Regions from separate parts of the Homo sapiens genome. Here regions 2, 3, 4 and 5 are each linked to region 1. The links are contacts of gene promoters, found by promoter capture Hi-C in blood cells and fetal thymus (Javierre and others, 2016). All regions are on one chromosome and are shown on one strand. The core of a region is centred on a gene start or on the middle of the fragment in contact, and the rest is flanking DNA. Distances in the headings are between cores, read along the strand shown. Region 1 holds the start of MR1 (major histocompatibility complex, class I-related). Region 2 has its middle 99 kb from the start of CACNA1E. Region 3 overlaps LOC107985232 (a long non-coding RNA gene). Region 4 has its middle 15 kb from the start of OVAAL. Region 5 has its middle 77 kb from the start of CACNA1E.

Evidence for each region. Contacts are between HindIII fragments. The CHiCAGO score rates a contact against its expected background, and 5 or more counts as called.
Region 2: a contact is called between a fragment that was not itself captured here and the fragment with the promoter of MR1 in region 1, in 5 of 17 cell types (total CD4 T cells, activated CD4 T cells, naive CD4 T cells and 2 more). The highest score is 5.9, in total CD4 T cells.
Region 3: a fragment that was not itself captured here is called in contact with the fragment with the promoter of MR1 in region 1 in 4 of 17 cell types (non-activated CD4 T cells, naive CD4 T cells, naive CD8 T cells and 1 more); the score reaches 7.8 in non-activated CD4 T cells.
Region 4: a fragment that was not itself captured here is called in contact with the fragment with the promoter of MR1 in region 1 in 4 of 17 cell types (naive B cells, total B cells, megakaryocytes and 1 more); the score reaches 7.9 in naive B cells.
Region 5: a fragment that was not itself captured here is called in contact with the fragment with the promoter of MR1 in region 1 in 4 of 17 cell types (non-activated CD4 T cells, naive CD8 T cells, total CD4 T cells and 1 more); the score reaches 6.7 in non-activated CD4 T cells.

The regions. Positions count from the first base shown.
Region 1 is chr1:181,031,877-181,035,269 of GRCh38, forward strand. MR1 (major histocompatibility complex, class I-related) reads left to right here and starts at 2,107. Exons shown (of 6, transcript NM_001385161.1): 1 at 2,107-2,198. The coding sequence starts at 2,132. RefSeq lists enhancers at 1,287-1,476, 1,677-1,776, 1,907-2,016. The HindIII fragment of the contact is 2,248 bases long and covers 1,445-3,393 here.
Region 2 is chr1:181,382,295-181,385,847 of GRCh38, forward strand. It overlaps a transcript of CACNA1E not described here. Among named protein-coding and RNA genes, the nearest start is that of CACNA1E, 99 kb to the right of the region's middle. The HindIII fragment of the contact is 2,778 bases long and covers 436-3,213 here.
Region 3 is chr1:181,425,109-181,428,584 of GRCh38, forward strand. The region is part of intron 1 of LOC107985232 (a long non-coding RNA gene); the gene reads left to right. It also overlaps a transcript of CACNA1E not described here. Among named protein-coding and RNA genes, the nearest start is that of CACNA1E, 57 kb to the right of the region's middle. The HindIII fragment of the contact is 6,743 bases long and covers 1-3,476 here.
Region 4 is chr1:180,542,568-180,545,923 of GRCh38, forward strand. No RefSeq gene overlaps it. Among named protein-coding and RNA genes, the nearest start is that of OVAAL, 15 kb to the right of the region's middle. The HindIII fragment of the contact is 6,574 bases long and covers 1-3,356 here.
Region 5 is chr1:181,405,173-181,408,706 of GRCh38, forward strand. It overlaps a transcript of CACNA1E not described here. Among named protein-coding and RNA genes, the nearest start is that of CACNA1E, 77 kb to the right of the region's middle. The HindIII fragment of the contact is 4,079 bases long and covers 1-3,534 here.

The sequences.
Region 1 (3,393 bases), core at 857-3,356:
TGTCTCAAAAAAAAGAAAGACATCGTTGACATACCTACATTTTTTTTTTTTTTTGAGATGGAGCCTTGCTCTGTCACCCAGGCTGGAGTGCAGTGGCACAATCTCAGCTCACTGCAACCTCTACCTCCTGGGTTCACACCATTCTCCTGCCTCAGCCTCCCGAGTAGCTGGGACTACAGGCACTCACCACCACGCCTGGCTAATTTTTTGTATTTTTAGTAGAGACAGGGTTTCACCATGTTCCAGGATGGTCTCGATCTCCTGACCTCGTGATCTGCCCGCCTCGGCCTCCCAAAGTGCTGGGATTACAGGCGTGAGCCACCGCGCCCGGCCTCATACCTACTTTTTAATGTCAGTACAGCAGGTTATGGTATGGAATGCATTTTGGAACAAGATATTAACAAAAATTCAAAGGAAAAAATACATGGCCATGGAATTCCAGTGCTGAGAGACATTTGGGAATATTGGGGGAGTTTTCCAAAAGAGAAATCCAGGTGACTGTATTTGTTAAATGAGTAACAAAAGGAAAAACAATGTAAAGAAACAGAAAGGAAAGGAAGAGAGAAATACAAAGATCTGAGAAGAGAAGGTGCCAGGGGCCGCTGAGAGATTGCCAAATGTTAATTTCATTATTTGGCTTCTTATTTTATTCTGGGTAAAGGTAGACCTATTAGTTTCCTGTTGCTGCTATAACAAATTACCACCAACTTAGTGGCCTCGAACAATGCAAATTTATTCTTTCAAAGTTCTGGAGGACAGAAGTCCAAAAATGTGTCCTATCAGCTGAAATCAAAGTGTTGTGTTCCTTCTGGAGGCTCTAAGGAGAATCTGTTCCTTCTCTTTTCTAGTTCTAGAGGCCATCTGCGTTCCTTGGCTCATGTCCTTCTTTCAGCAATGGCATCATCACTCTGACCTTTGCTTCCATTGTCACATCTCCTTGACTCTGACCCTTTTGCCTCCCTCTAATAAGGCCCCTCTGATTACACTGGGTCCACCAGATAATCCAGGATAGCTCTCTGTCTCAAGATCCTTAATTTAATCATATCTGCCAAGGGTTTTGTTTTGTTTTATTTTGTTTTTGCCATTTAAGGTAATATATCCACAGGTTCTGGCAATTAGGTTGTGGACATCTTTGGGGCGACAATTCTCAACCTACCATACAACCGGTACATAAGGTTCTACTACCTACTAAATGCATCATAAACAGAACTTCTGATCCTTCAACAACTCTGTGAAATATATGACAGGATTTGCTTTTAAAGTTGAAGAAATCAGGCCTTGGTGCAATTTGGGATTCTGCCCATGGTCAAATAGTGGGGAGGCAAACCCAGGTCCCTGAACCCAGCTCAAGCCTGCCTGCCTCATGGCCATGCCTCCATTCACCTCTCCCCTTCATGTCTACTTCCTCTTTCCTGTCTGGGCCTGTTCCCTAGCTCCCTGGACAAGCTTAAGCTGCTGTTTTCCAGCTTGTCATGTGCTCCTTATGACAGTGTAGCCACAGCTTGATCTTGGGGATTGCTGATTGAGCAAGCTGAGTGGCTGCCCCTCAGAATCTTCTGTAGGCCTTTCTCTTGCCTTCTTTTATTCAGTAAGTGTTTTGAGCTTATTGTGCTGGGTGCTAGAGTAGCAGGGAGGACAGACCTAAGTTGAAGATTACGGGACAATCTAAGTGACACCTGCTATCTCAGACAGAGACTTCAGCATCATAGGGAGCCAGAGCAGGGAGTTCCAAGCCGTGGGAACTGTGACTCTTTCTTACTGACCCTTAAGCAAAATTCTAAGCTCCAGGGAAGCAGAGGCAGCAGCTTGAGCTCCCTGATTGACCAGATATGATTAATCTTTGTTTCTCTGTGCTTTGAACATGACTATGCTCCATAAATATTTAAAAATTGGGAATAGGGTGAAGATAGATACACCAAAAGGAGCAAGCAGTGTCTGAAACCAGCAAAGACTTAAAAGTTACCGAAGAAGGTGTTCATGCTTTCATTTTATCTTTTTTTTTTAACCTAGCAACTGATGACACTGCATATCTTCCCCTGTTCTTATTGGGAGAAGGCCTTGTGTGTCACCAAGAGGTTCTCAGAAGGGACCTGTCAGTTTTTGGTTAAAAGAACCCGGAAAGAGAAGGACTATGGGGGAACTGATGGCGTTCCTGTTACCTCTCATCATTGTGTTAATGGTGAAGCACAGCGATTCCCGTGAGTATCCCACGTCCTCTTCTCTCCTAACTCCAAAGTCGAGGCAGCCTAGAAGGCACAGCTTTTCTTCCTAAAACTTGTGGTGAAAAATATAGAAGCCAGGGGCAGAAACGTGTATGTATTACACTCAGACTCCAGGAGCAATGGATTGCCTGAACAGTTTCCCAGTTCATATTTGTAGGATTTTGATGTCACCACCTTCTGAGGGAGGGGGAGCCGTTCTAGAAAGACTCTGGAACTTCCTCACTTTCCCTCTGAGCATGGCCTCCTTTCTTTTCTGCTCATATTTTTTCTTTTACTTTTGTTTCTCCTCTTTTCTAACTTCCAGAGTCTCATGAGGATGTAGTCAGAGTTTCAGGGGCATTAACAGTGGAGTAGATCCATTGTTCAGGTTTATTTATGTTTTTCCTCAACACAAGCCCTACCTGTAATAAAAGATCCAAGAAAGATAAAACCATGGCTCTGGGTTTGTTTACTGACTGTGAGAAGTATTAATCAAGTAGAAGGGAGAGTTTTTCATTATTCGGGGAGCTCAAGTCACTGGGGAAGCAAATGCCTTCTGTTGCCTCAAATAGGGGAAAGGGCCCATGGGCTAGAACCACCAGGCTTCTCTGCCCTAATCACTTGCTCCCTGGGCTGAGGACTGGTACTGGTGGGCAGTGTCCAGAACTTAGACTTGGCCACCACCATAGGTGTGACTGATGAACATGAGAGGAAGGAGTTCTTTCAAATCACCCATGCACATAGAGAGTGGAATGACTGACCATGGAGATTTGGAAGGGCGAGGGGGGTGGATGATTAGAAATTACTTAATGGGTACAATGTGTGTTACTTGGGTGATGGATACCTTAAAGCCCCAACTTGACCACTACACAATCTATGCTATAACAAAATTGCATGTGTACATCATAAATTTATACAAATAAAAAAATTTTAAATCATATGGCTGGGAGTGGTGGCTCACACCTGTAATCCTAGCACGTTGAGAGGCCGAGGCAGACGGATCGCTTGAGGTCAGGAGTTTGAAACCAGCTTGGCCATCATAGTGAAACCCCATCTCACTAAAAATACAAAAAATTAGCTCGGCACACCCATCTCTACTAAAAATACAAAAAATTAGCTGTGCACAGTGCGCACCTGTGATCCCAGCTACTCGGGAGACTGAGGCAGGAGAATCACTTGAACCCAGGAGGCG
Region 2 (3,553 bases), core at 575-3,074, 350 kb after region 1:
GAGACTGGGTTTGGCTGGTAGGCTGTGGTGAGTTTAGATTTTATTTTCAGGACAATAGAAAGTTATCAATGGGTTTTTAGAAAGGTCACTCTGGCTGCAAGCGAACAAGTGCTTGTGGAGTGGGGAGGAGTGGAAGCCAGAATCAGCTAAGATGTTCTTTGAGTAGTTCAGGTGCATCCAGTGACTTGGGCTAGGTTAATGGCAGTGGAGAGGAAGAATTTAAGGTAGGAAGAGCAGGATTTGATAAAACCCAGTGTGTCTAGGAATCTTGTTGATGACCAAATCATTTGGGCCTTGAAATTTTAGAGTTGGAAGTGAGTTAGGGATGGCCTAATATTACTCCTTGACCAACCACCTTATTTTCCACTCTGCTCTGTACAAATACCTTAGCAAATAGCAATAACAATCTTCTCTCAAATGTGTGTGGTCCTTTAAAGCTTCCCGTGTGCTTCATAATCAATGTTTCCTTTAAGGGCATGGCTTGACCCAACCTTTAGCTCAGCCCATTGCTCAGGTGCTCTGCTCCAGCTGATCTGGTCTTATCTTGCTAGTCAGATGCAGGGAATGGTGGTTCCTGTGTTGTAAAGTGGGACTCATGCAGAAGGGGCGGAGGCTTAGGTGGTGGGATGAAGCTGGAGAAGTGACTCCTCTCCAGAGACTGGCTCTGAGTACACAGCCAGCCATCTTGTCTTAAGACAAGGCCAGGACAGCTGCCTCCTCTTCTGGGGACCTCCTCCCCACATTCCAGCCTGTTCAAATCAGGCCGTGTTCACAGTCCATATTGTAATGTGTTCTCCTTAATGGGATCTTTCTCTGCTTTCCCCCCGGGGCCGCATCTCTCATTCCTTTGAACTTCCCCATTGGTATCTCTTTTCAGGCATTTATCTCAGCCCAATTGTTATACTTACTTCCAACTTTCCTTGAGTTATAGTGTCTTTCACTTCTTTATTCCCCACAGCCCCACTTGCATGTAGCTCATGCATATAGCACAGTCCAGTGAAGGTTGTTTAATTGAACTCATTCAAGGTCAAATACATCCTTTGGATGTGGTAGGTGCACAGAAAAATTAGAAGGGAGCTAAGATTCCCTGGTGAATGCTGATTCATTTATCTCTACACAGGTATGATGATGAGGCAAGCGGGGGCAGAAAGGAAGCAGAAGTAGTAAACGGAGCAGTTGGGAGTGCTTAGAACTAAGAAAGTATGTGTGTGGCAAATGCCTTTAGAAAACTCTGACTGAGCAGGAGCCTGACCACCATCTTAACTCTTCCTCATTTAAAATTTAAAACGGTCTGTGGGGAGAGACTCTCCTTTTAGGATCATCAATCTGATTTTGTTCCAGAACTCAGTTGGGAAATTAGGTTTTTATTTTAGGAATTTGCTAGAATATACTGTGGCAGAAACTGGCAAATGCTCACTAAACCCATTTCCTTTTCTTCCTGGGCACACAGCTCAACTATATTTCCCTGCCTCCCTTACGGGGTATGAACATGTGACCAAACTCTGGCTGTGGAGCGTAGGCAAAAGGGATGTGTGGCACCTCCAGACCTGACCCACAAAACCTCCTACATCATCATCCAGGCCTTTTCTCTTATTTCCTGCTGGCTGCATGCCAGAGATCTGGCAGAGGGCAGCACTGCCCAACAGAACTTTCCACGGTGATGCAACTTTCCATGCCTCTGCTATCCACTATGATAATCATGTGCTCACTGAGCGCTGGAAATGGAGCGAATGTGACTGAAAAACTGCATTTTTTACTTTATTTAATTTTAATTCATTTAAACTGCCCTACGTGGGTATGGCTGCCACATTGGGCACCACAGCTTTTGATGCAAGGATTCTGGTTCCTGGGTGACTGGATGGAGCAGAATCTCCTGTTTACCTGCACTGCGCAGTGAAGTACATGAGAAATCAGTATGGTGTTAAGACACGGAGATGCGATATCTATGCCATAAAGTGAGGGATACCTGCTGATTCACCTATACTAAAAATTCATATAGTATACATCTCAGCTGGATACCAACGTGGCTGGACAAACCCAGTATCTAATGTCAAATCCAATTATCCAGTGTCATTCTTAGAAGGAAAATCTACTCTTCTTTTGCCTCTCTTGAGCTCCCAATCTTTCTTCACCCTATTTTATTGGGGAAAAATGGAGGCCCTCCAAGCAACACTACTTCCTTTTTCCATGTAGGGTAGCAGAGTGAACTCAGGGTTCTCGTTTCTTCTCCATCATAGCTCACTGTGTGACTCAGGCAAGTTACATTTCTTCTCTGATTATTGGCTTCCTCATCTTTAAAGTTGCGATTTCTGGTTTTGGTTCTTTTTCTAAAATGCTCCTTTCAAATATCTGCTCTCTCTCTGCACCCTTTGTGCTTCTCCTCCTATCTTGGAAGGGACGATCCTCACTCCTGGTGTTCCCGGTACAAGCCCCTCCCAGACCCTGCCATGTTCCATTCTGCCCTCTGATAGCATTAGGAGATATACCTAATGCTAAATGACGAGTTAATGGGTGCAGCACACCAGCATGGCACATGTATACATATGTAACTAACCTGCACATTGTGCACACGTACCCTAAAACTTAAAGTATATAATAATAAAATAAAATAAAAGAAATCTTTCCTGCTTTCCTGCCTCTTTCCTCTTTACCAATGATTAAGCCCATACCTGCTATCACTACTGCCTTCCATTTCACTTACCTTCACTCTTTCCAGCCTAGATTTTGCCCTGATGTCTCTGCTGAGATGGATTTTGGGAATATCACTGTAAATACCCTCCCTTCAGCTTACAAAGGGCGGTCTCTGGGGACAGGGTGAGTCTCTCCTGTCTCAGCAGAGAAAGACACTTAATCCTGTTGCATGGCTCTTCTCCTTTCATCTATAAATTCTAGACTCTTACCTCCTACACTGCCAGGGTGTCATGAGAATTAAAAGTTTGTAAATTGCCTTGAGTTCCTTGGAGATAGCTAGCGAGTGCAAGTAATAAAAATCATTTCATATAAAGCTGTTGAAAAACAGGCAGTGAATTGGTTCACAGTCTCCCTCATTGGGTTATGATTATGAACATCTCCGATGGAATATCACATTACAGCAAGACAGGTGATGCCTGTGTTCAGCTGCTAATTGTAATAAAGAGCTTAATTTGCACTTCTTCTATTTTTCATTTCACTGGGTTGGGGAGTGGAGGTGACAGGGATGGGGATATTCAAGGAAGCTTTATAAGCGCGTCCTTGAATTGGTGATGGGGAGATGATTGTTCTAGCATTGTAAATAGCCAAAGCTAGACGGCTTGCTGCCATGAACTCTCCAGCTATTCTGTTACTTAATTACTATTGTTTTTCCTGTTTCCTAAGGCAGGGACTTTGAATCCGTCATTTCTGCCCCTACCCCTTCCTTCCTTTTGTTTTCCTTACTTTTATTTCCTTCCCTACTCCACTTCCTTCCTTTCCTTCCTCTTTCCTCCTCTCCTCTCTTACTTCCCTCCCTCCTTTCTTCCCTCCCTCCCTCCCTCCGTTTCTCCATTCTTTCCTTCCTTTGTTCCTTTCCTCCTCT
Region 3 (3,476 bases), core at 641-3,140, 390 kb after region 1:
TTATGGTGCCCCCAAGTGGTTGTTTCTGTGTATTGCAGCCGCAGTCTCACTGGGATGCTTTCCGCTGTGTAGCTGGAGGGGCTGGGGCAGCCTGGTGGTCAGCACTCACATCACAAGAAAGGAAAGCGAAGCCAGGAGGAGAAGGGCCTTGGCAGGGCACGATGAGCGCCCCGAGACTCCCACCGCAGTCCAGGGCCTTCCCCCTCCCTGACCACTGGCAACCCCTTGCCATCTTTAAGGGCTTGCCTGGACCCATGGCTGCAAATGAGCCAAAGGCGTTTTCCTCTTGGATGTGAGGGGATGGGTGAAGACACGTGCAGAAAAGGAAGTGCTCATTGTGGAGGAGGTGAACATAATTGGAGGAATTCGCTTTGGCCTTTTTGGCTGAAAAAAATATTTATGAAATTGCTGTACACCCCCGCTCCCCCCCCCGACCCCAAGCAGAGTTAGACACCTATAGAATTCCAGGCACCGATGAAAAGACCTTTAAAATTAATCGCACATAACTTCTCATTGAAGGTGCAGGTGAGAAGGCTGAGGCGCAGAGAAGGAGGTGGGCGTGGGGCACCCTTCTGAGGACCCCACCTCAGCCGCTCATACCCCAGCCACACTGTCCTCCTTCTCTTCTCTTCTGCTTTTAGCTCCTTTAACCATCTTTCTCTTCCTCTTTTTCTCTCGAAGCCTGTAGCAGGGAGGGAATGAAGGCATGCAGGGTTGGCGTGTGAGTGAGGAAGAGGGCTTGTCCCCCTTTCCCCTCTGTCCCTGCCCCCGCCTCTCCTGGGGACCTCCTTGCAGACCCTCTGCAGCTGTGCTCACATCCCACTACTCAGCCTCACTGCTGTTCTAAAAAGGCAGCATTACTGCCTGCTGATCAGGTGATGAGGAACCTGCAACCCTTCCCAAATTTATAAAGAAAACAGAGGAATTCAGTAAATTCTCTTTCTGCTCTTGGAGTAGGACAGACCAGTGGTCAGTTCTGGGGACAGTGCTCCTGGTGTGGAGACAGTGTTGGCTGGACACACCCAGCTTGGGTGCACTGGGGTCAGGTGGTCAGGTCTAACTGCATCCCCCTCCTGTCACTCCATCTCAACAATTCCCCAACCCAGTCCTACCCCATCTCAACCCTTCCTCAACCCAACCTCTCTCCATCTCAAGTCCTCCCCATTTCAGCCACTATCCGTCTCAAGCCCTTCCTATGTCAACCCTTATCAATTAAACTCCTCCTCATCTGAACCCTTCCCTAACTCAACCCAGCTCATCTCAACCCCTTCCCATCTCAACCGCTTCCCATCTCAGCCACTTCACAACTCAACCCCTTCACAACTCAACCCCATTCCCATCATGGCCCCATCACAACTCAACCCCTTCCCATCTCATTCCCTTCAAAACTCAACCCCTTCCTGTCTCAACCCCTTCACAACTCAACCCCTTAACAACAGAACCCCTTCCCATCTCAACCACTTCACAACTTAACCCCTTCACAACTCAATCCCTTCCCATCTCAACCCCTTCCCAACTCAACCCCTTCCCATCTCAACCCCTTCCCATCTCTACCCCTTTACAATTCAACCCCTTCACAACTCAACCCCTTCCCATCTCAACCCCTTCCCATCTCAACCCCTTCACAACTCAGCCCCTTCCCGTCTCAACCCCTGTCAATCTCAACCCCTTCACAACTCAACCCCTTCCTATTTCAACCCCTTCCCATCTCAACTCCTTCCCATCTAAACCCCTTCACATGTCAACCCCTTCACAACTCAACCCCTTCACATCTCAACCCCTTCACAACTCAACCCCTTCCCATCTCAACCCTTCACAGCTCAACCGCTGCCCATCTCAACCCCTTCACAACTCAACCCCTTCCCATCTCAACCCTTTCCCATCTCAGCCCCTTCCCACCTCAGCTTCTTCACATCTCTACCCCTTCCCATCTCAACCCCTTCACAACTCAACCCCTTCCTTACTCAATCCCTTCCTATCTCAACCCCTTCACAACTCAACCCCTCTCCATCTCAGTGTCTCCCCAACTTGACCCTTCAACATCTCAACCACACTCATCTCAACGCCTCCCTATTTCACCCTCTCCCCATCTCAAGCCTACCTCATCTGAACTCTACCCATCTCACCACACCCATCTCAACCCTCACCCATCTCAACCTCTGCCCCATCTCAACCTCACTCATCTCAACTCCTTCCCTATCTCTACCCCTGCCCGTCCCAACCCCTCCCATCTCAATTCCACCGCCATCTCAACTCCTCCCCCATCTTAACCCCTCCTCACCTCATTCCTTCTCCATCTCAACCCCCTCCACCTCAACTTCTCCCTCATCTCAGCCTCTTCCTCATCCTAACCCCTCCCACCTCAACCCTTCCCCATCTCAAGACTTCCCCATCTCAACTGCTCTCTACCTCAACTCCTCCTCCATCTCAACCCCTCCCCAACTTCAACCCCTCCCCCACCTCAACTCCTCTCCAACTTCAACCCTTCCCCCACCTCAACTCCTCTACCATTGCAACTCCTCCCCCATCTCAACTCCTCCTCCATCTCAACCCCTCCCCCACCTCAACCTCTCCCCATCTCAACTCCTCTCTCATCTCAGCCCCTCCCCCAGCTGCCATCTGTTATGGTTGCTTCTTTCCCCTGTGTTTATACTTAAGCTGGGAAAAATTCCCCCTCCCTCCCTCCCTCCTCCCCTTCCCTCTTTCTGTGATGAACATGAAATTATATTACACATATAGGTCTTTGTTTTGCTCTTATTCTTTTAGTTTTTAAAAATTACAGGATATGGTGTGCATCTTTCTTTGGCCATTTCTGGAAAGATGTCCATAACATCTCTTTCACGCTGCAGAGTATTCCTCAGCATGACTGAACCACAGTTTATTCCAGCAACCCTATCAATGGATGTTCCCAGTTGCTTTGCAGTTACCAGCTGTGCTGTAGTAAGCCTCCCCTACATGCCTTTAGGATGTGCACTTTCATTTCTGTAGGGTCAAGTCCTAGAAGTGGGACTGTGGACAAGTCTTTCCCACGCTATGCCCTCACTCTCCGGAGGACTGGCACTTCTCTCAACACCCCTCCTCAGCATCTCAGCCTCAAATTGAAATGTGAACTTTCACAGTCTGTGTTATCTCTCTGGCCCCACTGGAGAGGCCCGATGAATTAATAATATGCCAGCAGGAAACAGAGAGATGGAGTTATTAATTGTCAGTCCATGAGCCCACCCTCTCAAGGTCCTAATTAGCATGCTGACAGCTTCGGTTTTATCCAGAGCTAGGGCAAGGCTCTGGGGACACTGTGGCTCAGCTAGGGGCATCCGGCACAGAGTGGAGAGCCCTGGTGCCTTTCTGGGTGGGGTGGAGGGGCGCTTGCAAGAGGCTTGTGAATTCAGAAGTTCCTTCAGGGATCCCTTTGTGCCTGCTGTGGGGTAGGGGAGAGAAACAGGCTGGGAGTGGGGGCAGGAATGGGAGTTTTAGTG
Region 4 (3,356 bases), core at 249-2,748, 490 kb before region 1:
CTGTCTCTGCTCCCAAAATATTTCCCCTCCCTCTTTCTTTACCTAAAATTCTACCCAAACGGGTGAGGTCTTTCTTTTCCACATCTAGAGCTCAGTTTACAGTGTTAAAATTCTTGGCTATGACTGCAGCTTATTCACCCTAATGCAGAAAGGACTAAGATCACGTTCTTCCTTCCCTTGCTGGCAAAAACTAGAGACAGCAGAGGGCCCTGGGAATAGGGAGGATGAAAACAAACTTAAATTATCTACAACGTGGCTGAGCACTGTTTCTCTGAATCTACTGGACAAATAGAAGTGGATGAAGAGTATGCAGCCATGTCTATTCTCAGACGGCACTCTGAAGAAGACTAAAGTACCTACATTCCCTTAATGACTCAGGCATCAGAGACATCTCCTCTCTCCCAGGCCCCACTCAGAAAAAATGTCAGATGCTGAACATATCCATAGCAACCAAGAACACTCCTCGGTGCCACCTTGGCCTCAGTTCCTGAATTTCTGAAATGGATTGAGAGAGAGAGGGAGAGGAGGAGGGGGAGAGGGAGAAGAAGAGGGGAGGAGGGAGGAGGGAGAAAAAGGGGGAGAGAAGAAGAGGGGAGGGGGAGGAGGGGGAGAGGGAGAGGGAGAGGAAGAATCATACTTCTATATTTATCTTTTCCCTCCCTACTCTGGGATTTTATAAAAATTAATAAAATAGTGACTGCACCTGGCCCCCTGGAAGAAGACCCCTTTCTGTGCCGTGGGAATGATGCCATTTTCTTCCCATATTCTCCTCAGATGTCTTTTCCATTAATCACCTGATTTTGAGAAGCATAAAGGAATTTGGTGTCCTTTCTATTTTAGTCCATCATATTATTTTGTAACTCAACCATATTTGTAAAGAAAAGCTAGGTTGTATTCCCACTAACAGTTCAACAGAGCAATGTTCCAAGTGGGTTGTAGTAAAATAATGTTAATCTTTTTCTTGGAGCAGGAAGAAATACAGCAACCCTTTGTCAGTCTTCCACTTGCTGCAAGAAATGGGAATCTTGCAGAAACACTGGACTTGCATAGGCAATGAGAAAGCATTGAAAGAATAGTTCACCAAGAAATGGTAGTTCCTCTTTTACTTTTTTTTTTTTTTGAGACGGAGTTGTGCTCTTTTTGCCCAGGCTGGAATGCAATGGTGTGATCTCGGCTCACCGCAACCTCTGCCTCCCGGGTTCAACCGATTCTCCAGCCTCAGCCTCCCGAGTAGCTGGGATTACAGTCATGCACCACCACACCTGCCTAATTTTGTATTTTTAGTAGAGACGGGGTTTCTCCATGTTGGTCAGGCTGGTCTCAAACTCCTGACCTCAGGTAATCCGCCCGCCTCGGCCTCCCAAAGTGCTGGGATTACAGGCATGAGCCACCGCCCCTGGCCGGCAGTTCCCCTTTTATTTTAATGACACGCTCCCTCTTTTCTTTAGGAATATATCCCTCCTCACCCCCTCAGGCCCTGGTGAGGTTGTCAATCACAGTACCCCATCCCTCTTCTGGCTCCAGTGGGAAATATGCTGACCCAGATTGGCCAATCTGAGTACACCATCATTCTGACCATTGTCATTAGTTCAGGGCAGGCAAATGACCCAAGCCAGTCAATCAGGGCTGTCAAAAGCTGGCACTGCACAATCCAACAGAACTTGTTTACTCTGCAGCAACGTCCTTGCCAGCTCAGGTCCCTGCTGTGATGGACTCCTGGCCTGACTCTGAGGTTTGTTCACACTCTCAGTGCCCAGCCAGGGCAGCTACATGCCGAGGGGCTTCCTGCCTATGCCACACGTTCACCAGAGCACTGCCAAGGTTCCAGGGAAATGGAGCCGACTGGGTTTGTCAGAGCCAGGTCTCAGACAATACTTTTGGATCTGCTGTGGTAGGGATGAACCAGTCCCTCTGAGGAAAGAATATTCCTGTGACGTGTAAGAAATACATATTTGGGCTGGGCACAGTGGCTCATGCCTGTAATCCCAGCACTTTGAGTGGCAGAGGCGGGAGGATTGCTTGAACCCAGGAGTTCATGACTGGACTGGGCAACATAGCAAAAACTGTCTCTACAAAAAGTACAAAAATTAGCTGGGCATGGTGGTACACTCCTGTAGTCCCAGCTACTTGGGAGGCTGAGGTGAGAGGATTGATTGAACCCTGGAGGTCAAGGTTGTAGTGGGCCATGGTTGTGCCACTGCACTCCAGCCTGGTGACAAAGCAAGACCCTGTCTAAACAAACAACAACAACAACAACAAAACAAAAAACAAAACAAAACAAAAAAACAGAGAGAGAAATACATATTTGGTCTCTGCCCTCTGGGGCCCCATGAGTAGACACTGGAAACTTTTAGTCCCATCCTTTGTCCTTCAGGGAGGGGAGAGGAGCTAGAGATTGAGTTAGTAATGCCTACCTAATGAAGCCTCCATACAAATCCCTAAAGTATGGGGTTTGGAGAGCTTTGGTGTTCGTGAGCGAGACTGCACCCACATACTGAGAGGGTGGCAGAACTCGTTCATGGAGACAGAAGATTCCTATGCTCAAGACCCTTCCAGACCTTGCCCTATGTGTCTCTTCATGTGGTTGTTTGTTTGTATTCTTTAATATGTCCTAATAAACTGGTAATCTAGTAAGGAAACTGTTCTCCTGAGTTCTGCAAGCTGCAATAGCAAACGGTCAAACCTGTGGAGAGGGTCCTGGGAACCTCTGATCTGGAGCCAAGTCAGGCAAAGTTGTGGGTAAACTGGGGACTCACCACTTGCAGTTGACATCTAGGGTAGGGGGCAGTCTCATGAAATCATGCCCTTAGCTTGTGAGATCAGATGCTAACTTCAGGTAGATAGTGTCAGAATTGAGTTGACTTGTGGAACACCTGGTTGGTGTCTTCTGAGAAGTGAGGAATAGGTGTTGGGAAAAAAATCCCACACATCTGGCGTCAGAAGTGCTCTGTAGTGAGCATGAGTATAGGGAAAAACAGTTTATTTTTTCTATATAACCCCCAAAGAGAGACTCACCAGGACAGAAGGAAGATTTGGAGCTGGTTACCCGGGCTTTGTGCTGAGATCCAAAGATTTTTCAGCTGGGCCGCAGTGGCTCACGCCTGTAATCCCAGTGATTTGGGAGACCAAAGCAGGAGGATTGTTTGGCTGCAGGAGTTTGAGACCAGCCTGGGCAACATAGTGAGACCCCCATCTCTACAAAAAATTTTAAAACTTAGCCAGGTATGGTAGTGTGTGCTTATAGTGTCAGCTGCTTGGGAGGCTGAGATGGGAGGATTGCTTGAGCCTGGGAGGTTGAGGCTGCAGTGAACCATGATCATACCACTGCACTCCAGCCTGGGTGACAGAGCAAGACC
Region 5 (3,534 bases), core at 332-2,831, 370 kb after region 1:
CTCCAAGAAAATCACTTCAGGTAATCTTGGTCTGAGTGGGTGGGAGGGATATTACGAGGCTCTAATTGGAGATCCCCAGTGCTACTGGGATTGATACTTGAGAAATGTTTTGATAGAAAAGAGGCTATTGGAGAAGATTTTGCAGCATTGCAGATGCCATTGTCTGAGCCTGATGCTGCAGTGGTTTGGACAAACACCCTTCAGGGACTATATAGAGGCTTCTGGAAGTTAGCCCCTAGCCCTTCTCTATCCCAGTCTAGATAACTGGCATTTCAATTTGTTTCTCCAAGTCCAAGGGGTTGTAGCATTTTGTTTTCTTTCCAGTTAACTATTACTGACTCCTAGTGACTTTTCCTTCCAGAGACTGTCCAAGGAGTAGTTTTCTGTCCTTAGTTTTCTACCTCCCTTAAGTTCCTTAGAAAAGTATGGGAAACTGCAAAATATCTTCTTTCCTCCGTACCTGTTTACCTTTCTCCCTCTCTCCTCCCCTCACTCCTTCCTTTTATAAGCACTTACTGAATGCTTACAATTACTACATTTCTGCTCTCCAGTGGTTAAGCAGGGCCAGGTGACTGAATTCTGGCTAATGGAATGTGGAGAGTTGATATACACCACTTCTAGGCCTTGCCTGTAAGCCTCATGCAAAATCTTTCAAGTGCTTAGTCTTTTTCTTTGTCTCCCAGCTGGAGAGAAAAAGAGTTTAGGAAGACTCTGAGGCCCAGGGCTTGGGTGTTAGCAGGACCAGGTGCCTGTTTTTGTAAATAAAAAATTTTATTGAAATACAGCCGTATCCATTTGTTTATATATTGTCTATGCTGCTTTCACACTGAAAAGGCAGAGTTGTGTAGTTGCAACTAAGATCTTATGGCCTGCAATGGCTAAAATATTTACTATCTAACCCTTTAAGAAAAAAATTTGCTTAACCCTTCCCCAGGGGATGGCAGAGCCACTGAATGAAAGGAACCTGGTTCCCTGAATGACTATGTAGAGCAGAGTCTCTCTTTCCCATCTTCCAGGCCAACTTGCATCATTAGACAGTGATATTGGAGAGAAATAAGTTTTTATTTTATTAAGCTATAGATATTTTGAGGTTGTTTAATACAAACATAAGTTATTTTACATAATAAAAATGGTAGCTAATATTTATTGGGCATTTTTTATGGCCAGGTGCTGTTCTATGAGCTTCTGTATTTAATTCTCACAACTTTATGATGTATCTACCTTTCTTTTTTTTCTTTTTTTGAGATGGAGTCTCGTTCTGTCTCCCAGGCTGGAGTGAAGTGGCGCGATCTCGGCTTGCTATAACTTCTACCTCCTGGGTTCAAGAAATTCTCTGCCTCAGCCTCCTGAGTAGCCGGGATTACAGGCACCTGCCAGCATGCCCGGTTAATTTTTTTGTCTTTTTAGTAGAGACAGAGTTTCACCATCTTGGCCAGGCTGGTCTCAAACTCCTGACTTTTTGATCCACCCGCCTCAGCCTCCCAAAGTGGATGTATCTACTTTACATGTATCTACTTAATCTGTAAAATGATGTATGATCATTTTACAGATTAAGATATGCAAGGCTATGTAATTTGCCGAGGGATTCAGTTGGTGAGCGTGGAGTTGGGATTCATACCCAGCTTCAGAGCGTAGGCTCCTAACTTCTATTTTTTTGCCCCATATTTACCTAACTTACAGTTCCAAGTTCCTCCCCAGATACTATGTTGATTCTTATCACAGGCTTCTGTAGGGCAGGTTATATTATTATCCTCATTGTTTATGTGAGAAAACTGACCTAGAGAAGTCAAGCTAAAGGTTGCTTGACTAGCAAGTGGCAGAAATGTAGCCTGAACCCAGAGCTTCTGATACCAGAATACGGACTCTTTCAACTCCTCCGCAGAGACTCAGACTGACTTAGTGCACACTCCATATTTGAAGCTGTGTTTTCCTTGAGTCTTGGTTTACATTCAGAATGCACCAGCCTGTTAAATTGCTGTTGGACATTAGCCCATCCTTGAACAGTCACCATAACAACATAGGCACATGGAGAGGAATGTGGGGTAGGCAAAAACTGATGCCAGTCCAGGGGAGAATAGAGCTTTGCAGGGAGTGGGGGTGGGTCAGGGAACACTTCCTGGGTGTGTTTTGCTATGTTCTTTTCATGATATAGACTGGAAATGATTGAGAAGGACACTGTTCTAGTGGCTTTTAGCAACCTGACTCATCCAGGACAATACCTCTTACCAACTTAGCACAACCTCTCAGGCTGACACACTGCTTTTAGGACAGTGTTTGAAGACATGGTTCCTAGGGGGAAAGGGTGTCTATTAACAATGTAGGTTCCTGAACCCACCCAAGATCTACTGCATGAGAATCTCTGAAGAGACATCCAGGAATCTGCATTTTTAACCAGCAATGTAGATGGTTCTGATGTACATTAGAGATTGAGAAGTGCGGTCTTAGGAAGTCATGGTAAATGAAAATCATGCCCAGCTTTTACTCCTCCTTTTTCAGTCAGGTAGCAGGCTGGCTCAGCTAAGAAAAATCCCTAGATGAATATTTATTTCTGCACAGGGAATGTTTCCTCTCAGAGTAGGCGGGTGAGTATGCTGAGTAGGTCATTCCCTGCCATTCCTATTGCTGGGCAGGAAACCCATTTTACTGTATCAGTTCTCTCTCAAGAGAATCATTTTTAGAATTAACTCAACACGATATATAAGTTGTAGAGTATCATATCTCAAAATTTGTTTCCATCTTATAACTTTTAATTTCTAACAGGTGGGAATTAGGACATCTTTACCCTCATCCAGCCTATGGCAGACAGAGGGTACAGAGCCAAGATAGCTCAGGGCCAGCTTGGGGACACTTGTATGCCTACCACTCACCTCGTAGTGTTCATCAGTTCCATTTCTGTCCACTATCTCTTAGCCAATGTGCTTGGTGGTCTATGCAGTGGAGATTTCTTTGCTGAACTCAGAACTTTCAGGGAATAAAGATAGTAGACTTAGAAAAGCATGAGTTTCATTGACTTGCTGGTGTATCCACTTCTCACAAGGTAAGTTGGAGGATGCACATGTTCTGGAGGAATCAGAAAGAGAGTGGTGGAGGGGTGGGAATAGGATGGGCATGCACCCAAGGAAAGGAAGATGAATGTCCTCAATGTGACAGACTCATCTTTAAGGGTCTGAGAGGCACAGATAAGCCAAAGGGGTGCATGGACCATTATTTCTAAAGCAGTAAAAAATAGATGAATTAAGAAGTAAAACTCTTGATAGGGTATAAAGGGAAAGATGGTGCAAAGGACATAATATTTCTTCATGGACAAAGATCTTGACTTTGACTCTGGAAGGGTGACAGGGAAGACAATTTCAGAAGTAGGCTATGAGCTCGAGTGTTTTTGGCAGTGCAGGGTGCTTGTGTGGGGGTGGAGGAAGAGAGCCCTTATTCTGCCATTCCACTGTGCCCTGACAGGGAAGGGAAGGGTTTTTCTGGGGCTGCTGGATTACACTAAACGCTCTTCCACCCCAGGATCCCCATAATTTAAAATCACAC